Linked DNA regions of Homo sapiens: region 1 is linked to region 2. Evidence: promoter capture Hi-C in 16 types of primary human blood cells and fetal thymus (Javierre and others, 2016). All regions are on one chromosome and are shown on one strand. The core of a region is centred on a gene start or on the middle of the fragment in contact, and the rest is flanking DNA. Distances in the headings are between cores, read along the strand shown. Region 1 overlaps NEMF (nuclear export mediator factor). Region 2 holds the start of VCPKMT (valosin containing protein lysine methyltransferase).

Region 1 (5,888 bases), core at 797-3,296, 270 kb before region 2:
CCATCTCTACTAAAAATACAAAAATTAGCTGGGCATGGTAGTACATGCCAGTAATACCAGCTACTCAGGAGGCTGAGGCACTAGGATTGCTTGAACCCGGGAGGCAGAGGTTGCAGTGAGCTGAGATCACACCCTTGCACTGCAGCCTGGGCAACAAAGTGAGACTCTGTATCAAAAAAAAAAAACCAAAACAAAACAAAAAAAAAACCGCAGTCCCCAGCCTTTGGCACCAGGGACCAGTTTCATGGAAGACAATTTTTCCATGGATGGGGGGTGCAGGGGTATGGTTTCCGGATGAAACTGTTCCACCTCAGATCATCAGGCATTAGATTCTCGCAAGAAGCATGCAACCTAGATCCCTTGCATGCACAGTTCACAATAGGGTTCACGCTCCTATAAGAATCTAATGCCACCACTGATCTGACAGGAGGCAGAGCTCAGGTGAGTAATGCTCACTCGCATACTGCTCACCTCCTGCCGTGTGGCCTGGTTCCACAGACCAGTTCCAGTCTGCGGCACAGGGGTTGAAGATCCCTGGTATAAAAGATTAAAAATGGAACACCTGTATAGGGCACTTACCATGAATGGAGCATGCAGGACTGAAAACTGCTCTGGGTGAGTGACAGTGAGTAAATGTGAAGGCCTGGGACATTACTGCATACTACTGTAGACTTGATAAATACTGCACACTTGGGCTACACTAAATTTGTTTTTTATTTTTTAATTTTTAAAAAAATTATGCTTACCTCAGACCAGATTAAATTTATGTATTTATTTATTTATATACATACACACGCACGCGCACGCGCGCGCACACACACACACACACACACACACACATATATTTTTTTTTTCCTTTTTGAGACTGAATCTCACTCTGTCACCTGAGCTGGAGTACAATGGCATGATCTCAGCTCACTGCAACCACTGCCTCCCAGGTTCAAGTGATTCTCCTGCCTCAGCCTCCCGAGTAGCTGGGACTACAGGCACGCACCACCACACCAGGCTAATTTTTGTATTTTTAGTAGAGATGCAGTTTTGCCACATTGGGCAGGCTGGTCTCAAACTCCTGACCTCAGGTGATCCACTCGCCTTGGCCTCCCAAAGTGCTGGGATTACAGGTGTGAGCCACCACACCTGGCCCAGATTAAGTTAGTTAGTTAGTTAGTTAGTTAGTTTATTTTTGAGACAAAGTCTTGCTCCGTTGCCCAGGCTGGAGCACAGTGACACAATCTGAGCTCACTGGAACCTCTGCCTCCCAGGTTCAAGTGATTCTCCTGCCTCAGCCTCCCGAGTAGCTGGGATTATAGGTGCCCGCCACCACGCCCAGCTAATTTTTGTATTTTTTAATAGAGACGGGGTTTTGCCATGTTGGCCAGGCTGGTCTTGAACTCCTGACCCCAGGTGATCTGACCCCAGGTGATCCGCCCTCCTCGGCCTCCCAAAATGCTAGGATTACAGGTGTGAGCCACTGTGCCCGGCCTGAGTCATTGCGCTCAGCCAAATTTATTTTTAAGATGTTTTTCTTTCTTCAATAATAAATTAACCTTTGCTTCCTGGAACTTTTTTACTTTATAAACTTTAAACTTTTTAGCTTTTTGACTCTTGTAATAACACTTAGCTTAAAACACATATCGTACAGCTGTACAATACTTTCTTTCTTTAGATCCATATTCTCTAAGCTTTTTTTCCATTTTAAATTGTTTTGTTTTTACTTTTAATGTTTTTGTTAAAAACTAACACACAAACTCACACACCAGCCTAGGCCTACACAGAGTCAGGATCAAGATGTCACTAAGCAGTAAGAATTTATTAGATCCATTACAATGTTACAGGACCAACGTTTATATGCAGTCTGTTGTTGACTGAAACATCACTATACATACAGCGCATCAGTGCATGACCGTATTTGACTATTTTCTGGTTGCATATTAGTCCTGAAATGTCAAGTACCAAATAATTTACTTCTCAGATCTTCATCTCCTACATTCATAAGGCTATTCTAAATGGCTAAAGTCTGCCTAAACTCAGACCTACAGATAAAATGAAGGTTATTACTGGAAAATTTTATTTTATTTGTGTGGCACCCATTTCCTAGGGTAGTAACAACCTTTGACACAGAAAAAAAATGTTCCCCCACTCATGTTATATAGCACTATTACAAAATGATTAATAAGAAATTTTCCTTCACCATATCCCACAAATTTAACTTACCCTATCATAGAGCTCAATGATTAAATGGTAAGCAGCTTCATCACTTCCAAATTGAAAATCTACAATTCTATCCACACCAAGCTGTTTTGCACTGACTAATCTCCGACTCTTCAAATGTTTTCGGCACTAGCAAGAGAAAGAAAAAGGCATTCATTTAGTAAAAGTGAATTCCTAACCATTTGGTATTGGTTTATAAATAAGCTTCTTTTCATTATCATCAGGAATATTTAAAACGTTGTGAATAACAGTATAGTCATAAAGTAATAGATTGCAGATGATAATCAGAGGGAAAACATTTTATTATAAACACTAACTCTGAAACAGTGTTTTATTTGCATTTTTTTAAGACAGGGTCTCACTCTGTCACCCAAACTGGAGCCCAGTGGTGTGATCATGGCTCGCTGCAGCCTCGACTTCCCTGGCTCAGGTGATCCTCCTGCATCAGCCTCCTGAGGATTGGGACCACAGGCACATGCCACTATCCCCAGCTAATTTTTTCATTATTTGTAGAGACAGGGTCTCACTATGTTGCCCAGGCTAATCTCAAACTCCTGGGCACAAGCAATCCTCCTGCCTTGGCCTCCCAAAGTGCTGGGATTACAAGCGTAAGCTACTGAGCCAGGCTTTTATTTTCAATTTTTAAGTAGAGAATGATGGACCTATAGCAAAATTTGCTTTGTTGCTTTATACCACTGCTAAATTCCTTGTTGTGGTCCTAATGACCTCACTCATAAGCCACAACCTTTATTTATTTACTTTATTTTGAGAGAGAGTCTCGCTCTGTCGCCCAGACTGGAATGCAGTGGCACAGTCTCAGCTCACTGCAACCTCCGCCTCCCAGGTTCAAGTGATTCTCCTGCCTCAGCCTCCTGAGTAGCTGAAATTACAGGCGTGTGCCACCACACCCGGCTAATTTTTCTATTTTTAGTAGAGACGGGGTTTCACCATGTTGGTCAGGCTGGTCTCGAAGTTCTGACCTCGTGATCCGCCCACCTCAGCCTCCCAAAGTGCTGGGATTACAGGCATGAGCCACTGTGCCCAGCCAACCTTTACTTATTTATTTATTTATTTATTTATTTGGAGACGGAGTCTCACTTTGTCACCCAGGCTGGAGTACAGTAGCACAATCTTGGCTCACTGCAACTTCTGCCTCCCAGGTTCAAGCAATCCTCCTGCCTCACCCTCCCAAGAGTAGCTGGGACTACAGGCGCCCACTACCACGCCTGGCTAATTTTTTGTATTTTAGTAGAGACGGGGTTTCTCCACGTTGCCCAGGCTGGTCTCGAACTCCTGAGCTCAGGCAATCTGCCCACCTCGGCCTCCCAAAGTGTTAGGATTACAGGCGTGAGCCACCACACCCAGTCCCTTTATTTTTTTTAAGTCTCTTTGATGACACTTCTAAGTATGCCAAATTTCCCTTTTGTATGCTTCATTTATGTTCAAAATTAATTAATTGTTTCCACTAATCTTCTACTTCTAATACATATCAACTATGGACCATGAGCTTATGGCTTATGGTATCCTGTAAATAGTCCACCACCTTATATCCAGTTACCCCTACCAATTCTTTTTTTTTTTTTTTTTTTTTTTTTTTTCTTTAAGAGAGTCTTTGCCAGGAGCGGTGGCTCAGGCCTGTAATCCCAACACTTTGGGAGGCCGAGGTAGGTGGATCACTTGAGGTCAGGAGTTCAAGACCAGCCTGGCCAATATGGTGAAACCCCATCTCTACTAAAAATACAAAAATTAGCTGGGCGTGCTGGCGCATGCCTGTAATCCCAGCTACTCAGGAGGCTGAGGCAAAAGAATCGCTTGAACCCAAGAGGCGGAGGTTACAGTGAGCCGAGATGACACTACTGCAATCCAGCCTGGGCAACAGAGCAAGACTCTGTCTCAAAAAAAAAAAAAAAAAAGAAAGGGACAGAGTCTCTCTGTTGCCCAGGCAAGGCTCAAACTCCTGGACTCAAGCAATCTCCCACCTTAGCCTCCCAAGTAGCTAGGATTACAAGTGCCCTGCCACTGTGCCCAGCTTATTCCTACAAACTTTACTAATATAACCCAAAGAGAATTTTCCTGGTATCGTCTCTAAGCTTTTGATAACCTATTTCAATCCAATGTAATAACTCTCATTCTTTATTAAATCCCCTTCCTCCTATCCCTGGCCATAAGGTTCTTTTTCTTATTAACAATTAAAATAATATTAGTATATCAAATCCAAATACAATTTACTTGGCAATACCTACTCTTTTAGATTACATGTACCGTCTTTTTGTACAAATATTGAAGTATGACATGGACTGGTAACAAGACTACTCTGTAGCCTCTAAAATATCTTACAATTGTTTCTAATTTTTTAATATAAAAGACCCTTTAGTTAAGACCAATAAGAAAGAATGCTTTCTTCAAGACTCAAATACGGTCTGGGTATGGCAGCTCACGCCTGTAATCCCAGCACTCTGGGAGGCCGAGGCAGGCGGATCACAACGTCAGGAGTTCAAGACCAGCCTGGCCAACATGGTGAAACCCCATCTCTACTAAAAATACAAAAATTAGCCAGGCATGGTGGCGTGTGCCTGTAATCCCAGCTACTTGGGAGGCTGAGACACGAGAATCACTTGAACCCAGGAGACTGAAGTTGCAGTGAGCCAAGACTGCGCCACTGCCCTCCAGCCTGGTGACAGAGCAAGACTCCGTCTCAAAAAAAAAAAAAAAAAAAAAGACTTAAATACGAAACAAATTTTACAGAAGTTAATCTAAGACCACCTTCAAAAAAAAGACAAAAAATCCACTCCTTGACAAAGGTTGAAAAAAAACAACAATAAACACATAAATTCATTATTAAAATTAATGCTAACATTTTCATAACTAAGAAGAGTTCTTCTCCAGACCTTATAGCCCAAATTGACTGAAATTCGCATTTTATATACTCACATAGGCAGAATAACTTCCTAGGATAAACAATCTGCTCCTCCTTAACTCAGTAGTTTTAAGAATGACCTATACTGATTTGATTAAACAGTAACCTACATGTAGGGCTATCTTTAAATCCCTAGAGGAAAATCACAATCAGTTCTTCCAGAGTCCCTGAGTAATAATTTTATTCAAGAAAAATAAAGACAAAAGGCATCATTGAAAGGACAGAAGTTCACACAAAGGAATAGTAAAAAGGGGATTATTTATCATGGAGAGTACAGATGGACACATAGTACATATTTAAAGCTTGTTTCATTTCCCTATCAACAGCTTGGTGAAATCAACCTGCTGCTGTGTGCCACAAAGCTATAGCTGTCATCCCCAAATGTGAATACTGGAACAACCACTGTGATTTATCACATAATAGACATAACTCTGCCTGTGCCATGCAACAGTAACAGCTCTTTGATTTATAAAGTGCTTAACATTGTCTGCTCCATTGAGGAAATCTTTCTATACATTTAGATTGACACGTACACCTAACCCATAGAATTCTAAGTATTTTTTAAAGTGACTGACCTATTAGTGTAGTCTGATTTGGAGATGTTTACACAATCCCAGTGTCCTATTTCATTGGCCTGTTACCTCATCCATAAAACTGAAATTGTATTTGTTCTTCACAGTCCACTGAGTTGCTAAACAACTTAAATGAAATACATATTATTCATCTGCCTTAAAAAGTGCTACACAACAGGTAGCATTAT
Region 2 (5,738 bases), core at 1,579-4,078:
AAGTTAGCCGGGTGTGGTGGTACATGCCTATAGTCCCACTTACTTGGGGGCGGGGGGGGGGGGGGGTGACACTGAGGCAGGAGGATCACTTGAGCCCAGGAGGTTGAGGATGCAGTGAGCCCTGACTGTGCCACTGCACTCCGGCATGGGCTACAGGGTGAAACCCTGTCTCAAAACAAAAACAACTTATCACCTGCACATTTCTATCACGTATTCTCCAAAGGTAATACATACATCATTGAGATGTTCCCCAAAGGCAGCATCATGTTTAATAAACACTGAAAACTGTTCTTAAAAAGGAGTGGCACCCGTATTAACATTCTTCTGTAGCCATAGATCAACTAATTAGAAATGAAATAAAGTATCAGAAAAGATGAAAAAGGGGAGCTTCGTAGAATCATGGGCTGTGAAGATCCTTTCCTCAGCTTCACACAAACAGCATGTTTTCCCCACCCAAAATTACCATAATATACTTGAAGAGTCACATACAGCCCCCCTGAAGGGAAATCACTACAAAGATAATAGAGTACTTAATACTTACCTCAAAATATTTTTTCTCAATTTCTGGATTTTTCCCCATTGTTCGTTGTTCATAACAACATATAATACAAGTTTCAAATCCGCTGATATCTTTTAGAGTTTTCAGCAATGGCTCCAAAGACTATTTAAAAAAGAATATATTTTTTGTTTTTGATTTAAAAATTTTTCTACTCTAAAAGTAGGTTGAGGAGGTACAGGGGTATTTATAGCTCCCCTACAATTTATCCATCTTTGAATCAATCCAACAAAGCACATGTAATTAAAGCTCTAGGCTAGGTGCAGTGGCTCACACCTGTAATATCAACACTTTGGAAGGCAGAGGTGGAAAGATCGCTTGAAAGCAGGAGTTGAAGACCAGCCTGGAGAATACAGCGAGAGACAAACCACCCCCCGCAACACCTTACAAAAAATTTAAAAATTAGCCAGCATGCTGGTGCACACCTATAGTCCCAGCTATTGAGGAGGCTGAATGGGAGGATTACTTGAGCCTCAGGAGCTCGAGGTTACAGTGAGCTATGATCACTCCACTGCACTACAACATGTGTGACAGAGCAAGACCCCTATCTTAAAACAAAAACAAACAAACAAAAACCCCTCTGTAACTAATGATTGGGTAAGCTCCTGTTAACTAAACCATGTACTGATTTTGGTTTCCAGAAAAAGGATTCAGATGACTGCATTTTGGAGTTCTCATGGGAAACAAATGGAATCAACCTTACTCTTAAAAGTTTAATTTTATTTAATCTAATTTGGGATTTAAATAATCAACGATTTCCCTACAAAAGTTAAATCTGACCCTAACTTGGTTCAATGCTAATTATTTTTAAAATAATCGATGCCCACAACACTATACAAACTGATGTTTTTTTTTTTTTTTTTTTTTTTTGAGACAGAGTTTTGCTCTTGTTGCCCAGGCTGGAATGCAATGGCATGATTTCGGCTCACTGCAACCTCCGCCTCCCAGGTTCAAGCGATTCTCCTGCCTCAGACTCCCAAATAGCTAGGATTACAGACATGCACCACCACGCCTGGCTAATTTTGTATTTTTAGTAGAGACAGGGTTTTGCCATGTAGGTCAGGCTGGTCTCGAACTCCCGACCTCAGGTGAGCCACCTGCCTTGACCTCCCAAGTGTTGGGATTACAGGCGTGAGCCACCGCGCCCGGCCCAAACTGGTATTTAAAGAAAAGAACAATGAATTATTTATAACTTAATTCTCAATGTCATGGTTAACATGTTCCGTGGGAACAACCAAGGGAAAAAGAGAGGATTTTGGCTTTTCATAACATCCAATTGGCAAAATCCTTTAAAATTTTTACAGAAGCCTCTAGTAAAATGCATATAACACTTTTCTCAACATGCTTCACCAGGTCGGTATGATAATGATGAGCGTATATACATATGGTCCCTGGTGACTTTTATCTTCTCTTTACTGCATCAACTATAAGGCAAATCCCGGATTCAAAGATGTTAAAATGTGAAGAAACGTGTGCTTTAGAATTCATGGAATAAGGTTCATCTTCTAAGTGAAGAGACTTCGCTCACTGGATACTTACCTCTTCATAGTATATGCAGTCGGCCATCAGTATGAAGTCGGGTGGAGAAGGAAAGCCTTCTATTTCTTCCCCCCTTAAAAATGCCAAACAAATATTTCAATTGTTTTAATAATTCAAAATACTCTTGTTTTATAAAGAACCGGAAAGTCCCCTTCCATCCTTTTAATGAAACGCAATTCAAAACAAACTACAAATCAATATCTTAAAACAAGCTGAAAGGCCATACAAACCATTTCAGTACCTTGGCTTGAACAGAACCAGTGACAAGATGCTTGTTCATATTAATATTCATCTTCAGCAAGTCTTGCAATTCCTCAAGATCGGTGACTACAACATCAGCCCTATAAAATAACGTCGACTGAGGTGTAGGCACAGGGGGGAAAGCCTGTAATCCGGATTTCCCCAGCAAGAAGGCGCCCCCACATCCCGCCCGCCCGCCAGCTCTTACCCGAGGGTAGCAGCCATGAGCCCCACGGCCCCGGTGCCCGAACCCAGCTCCAGCACCGACCGCCGGCTCAGCGCGTGGGCCCCGTCGCCAGAAAACTCGGGCGTTTCCAGGTATTTAGAAAGGACAATGGCAGCGTCCCACACAACGCAACCCACGCCACCGGAGCTATACTGCTGTAGTCGTAGCACTGTACCATCCCGCTTCTCCAAAACTCGCACAAAGCTCCGCAGTGGGTCCTCCAGCGAGGACTCCAGCGTATCCGCCATTGCGCCCGGCAACAGAAAGCGGCGCGCGCAGGGACGTCACATCAACGCGCACCGCCCCGCCCTGCGGCTCCGCCCCCTGCCCGCCGCTGAGTTGGCGACGCAGCGCGCGCGAGTTAACAAAGCCCGGAAGGCAGCGTTACCTGGGCGGGGCCGAGCGTGGGGCCCCTGCTTACCCGACGCGCTTGGCAGCCTCCCTCTACCCTAAATCACACGTTTGGCTTAACGAAGAGGCCGTTTAAATCACTTTCCCAGACAAAACTATTATAATCTGCTCTTTAAAAAACAAAGCCAACCTCAGAGTTTACCAAGTTGGACACTTGATTTACATAGTAGTTACAAGGCTTAAATGCAATCAGCTTCCAAGATCCTACCAAAGATGGCTATAATCTTACAATCTTCCTTTTCAAGTTCCTAGTATGCTCCTAGTTTTTTGTATGAATTCATAAAAGTGGTTGCTAGAAGCCTGCAGCTCACATTTAACAGTGAAGAAAAAATTGTGTGTGTGTGTGTGTGTGTCTATAGGACTCAACAATCTCCCCCTTTGTTCCTTATAATGAAAACACATATTTTAAAAGTCTTTTAAAAATTAAGACTGGGGTGATTTATTAATCTTGTTAAGAACTCTGATACAAAGCACAGTAAAAGGCCACAAACCAGTAAATAAACAACGTGGCTTTTGGCTACTTTACAACTGCTGCTACAGCACTATCAGCAAAACACTCTATCACTTTGAACGAAGGCATCCAAATGGCAAATAAAAGCTTTACTCACTTATCTGATTAAAATGTTTAATAAAGCTTTAAGTATTTGCTGGTTTAAATATTACCAATCTAAAAAATATATTTAAAAAAAATTTCAGTTAACACGAGATTTATAGAGAAAGTTACTAGGTCTTGAAGGCAAGGCAGTTGGTTCCTATGCCATAGAATTTTTTTTGAATTTATGAATTAGTAAAGTAGCAGATTGTATTATAGGCCTCAAGTCACTTAAATTTATATAGGTTATTAGCAGTATCTTTAAATATACAATATAAACAAAACTGTACATACATGGCATATTAACTGTTTTCCATAACAATAGGCAATTCATTAGCTAAAGACGTCATAGTCTGCAAAAACAAAAGGCACATCTGAATGAGATACATGCCCTTTTTCCCTCCATCATTGGGTTATGTAGTCTTTGTTTACATTTTGACAAAATAATAAACACTTACAGTGCCATTCTATTATTTTCATCCTACTTTTCATTTTTGTCTTCAGCAGCAAATACCGGCATTTAAGACATGGCATTAAAGAGTTTAAGAACAGTTGGTGTTATTCACAATTCTCCTAGATGTAAAAACTAGAAGTAAAAACTAGAAGATGGTCAAAGAGGTTTAAAAATCAGTAACACCATATACCCCTCCCATATTTGTGTAAATTCACTGCCTTAAAAAGGCATCTATTACTCAAATTTGAAAAATTTCACAAAAGCACTATCCCTTTTCAGTGCAATCATGTCACTTTAAACCATATTTTTGCAGAGTTTACAGTGCAAATATAAATTCTTTATACTGGCCTTTTGGCAGCACTGAGGATCCAAGACAAGGCAATGCTACTGATCACCTGAGGATAATGGTGAAGGACTTTTGTATTTTTATTTTTCCAATTCTTAAAAGCTTATTTGATCAGTAGCATTTTTGTAAGAGCATTATTTGTAAAAAGTACTAAAATACTATGTCTTTTTTTGAATAAATTAAAAAAAAAACTTTACAAATACCATTCCAGTGTCAATGACTACATATGGCTAAGGTCATTGGGGAGTTTCTGCATTTTCTAGCAAAGGCAGTCTGTACAATGGGGGGTGCGAAAGCTCCCGTTTGTAAGTCTTTGGTGGCAGTTTTGGCAGATGAGGGCTTGAATTCTGCCTTGGTGGAACAGGGGGAGCTGGAGGATGAGCAAGATTATTCTGACTAGAACTGAGCACATAGCATCGACGCGGTACCCTTGGAGAGGGTGTGCTAGGAGGAGTGCTTGGCGAATTTGGACACGTACTAATGTCTCTGAGCCAGTCTGAATCTCTGTGAAGATGCCCCAGTGGAGGTGGCTGAAGATTAAATGGACAGTTTATAAAGTGTTCTGGAGGCCGAAGGGGAACTGGTGGAGGGGTATCAGGAAGAGGATCTCTTGGTGGTGGCGGAGGTGGACTATGCAGAGGCCCATCAAATGCACCAGTAGGAACAGGAACTCTGGGTTTTACCTTTGGAGGAGGAGGCTGTCTCGGTGGAATAGCAGGAGGATCATCATCAGATTTCATATTTCCCTCAAAAAAAAAAGTAATTAAATTATACCTCTATTCTGAAAAATTAAAAAAAAAAATTTTTAAGTCTGAAAAATTCTTACTTGTCAAGTTAAATTCAGAGGCTCAAAATAAACTAATCTGGGTTAATTATCAGATTATGAGTACTCCTAGATTAATTCAGGGCTGGGTTTAATATTTTTATATATGAGATGTTTTAATTTAAGTCTTAGGTCCTAACTCTTTATCTTGCTTTGTGTATACATTTCAGAAATTTATGTATTTTAATTATAATAGTAGGTAAGTGACAATAATTTATTGCTTTATAGACATGAAAGGACATGATGTCTAGAGGACTTTAATGTCTAGCTTCTGCTTACTGGGCATCTACTGCTACTTTCTCCAGTGAGGCTTAGAGCAGTAGATCTCAAAGTGTGATCCAGAGACCAACAACATCAGCATCAGTAGGGAACTTGTTAGAAAAGCAAATTCTTGGGCCCCATCCTAGACTACTGAATCAGAAACTCTGGAGGTGTGGCTCCACAGTCTGATTTTACCAAGCCTTTCAGGTAATTCTGATGCACCCTTAAAATTTTGAGAAGCATTAGTTGAAAGTTTGAAGAATACTTGGAATACTACTGAAGTTTTTTTC

Evidence for each region. Contacts are between HindIII fragments. The CHiCAGO score rates a contact against its expected background, and 5 or more counts as called.
Region 1: a contact is called between a fragment that was not itself captured here and the fragment with the promoter of VCPKMT in region 2, in 16 of 17 cell types (naive CD4 T cells, naive CD8 T cells, non-activated CD4 T cells and 13 more). The highest score is 27.0, in naive CD4 T cells.

Annotation. Positions count from the first base shown.
Region 1 is chr14:49,843,926-49,849,813 of GRCh38, forward strand. NEMF (nuclear export mediator factor) reads right to left here. Exons shown (of 33, transcript NM_004713.6): 4 at 2,215-2,340. Among named protein-coding and RNA genes, the nearest start is that of NEMF, 5.9 kb to the right of the region's middle. The HindIII fragment of the contact is 733 bases long and covers 1,681-2,413 here.
Region 2 is chr14:50,113,744-50,119,481 of GRCh38, forward strand. VCPKMT (valosin containing protein lysine methyltransferase) reads right to left here and starts at 2,829. Exons shown (of 6, transcript NM_024558.3): 1 at 2,544-2,829; 2 at 2,326-2,436; 3 at 2,096-2,168; 4 at 542-661. The coding sequence starts at 2,809. SOS2 (SOS Ras/Rho guanine nucleotide exchange factor 2) reads right to left here. Exons shown (of 23, transcript NM_006939.4): 23 at 3,387-5,110. The coding sequence ends at 4,601. RefSeq lists an enhancer at 2,766-2,825. The HindIII fragment of the contact is 15,614 bases long and covers 1-3,568 here.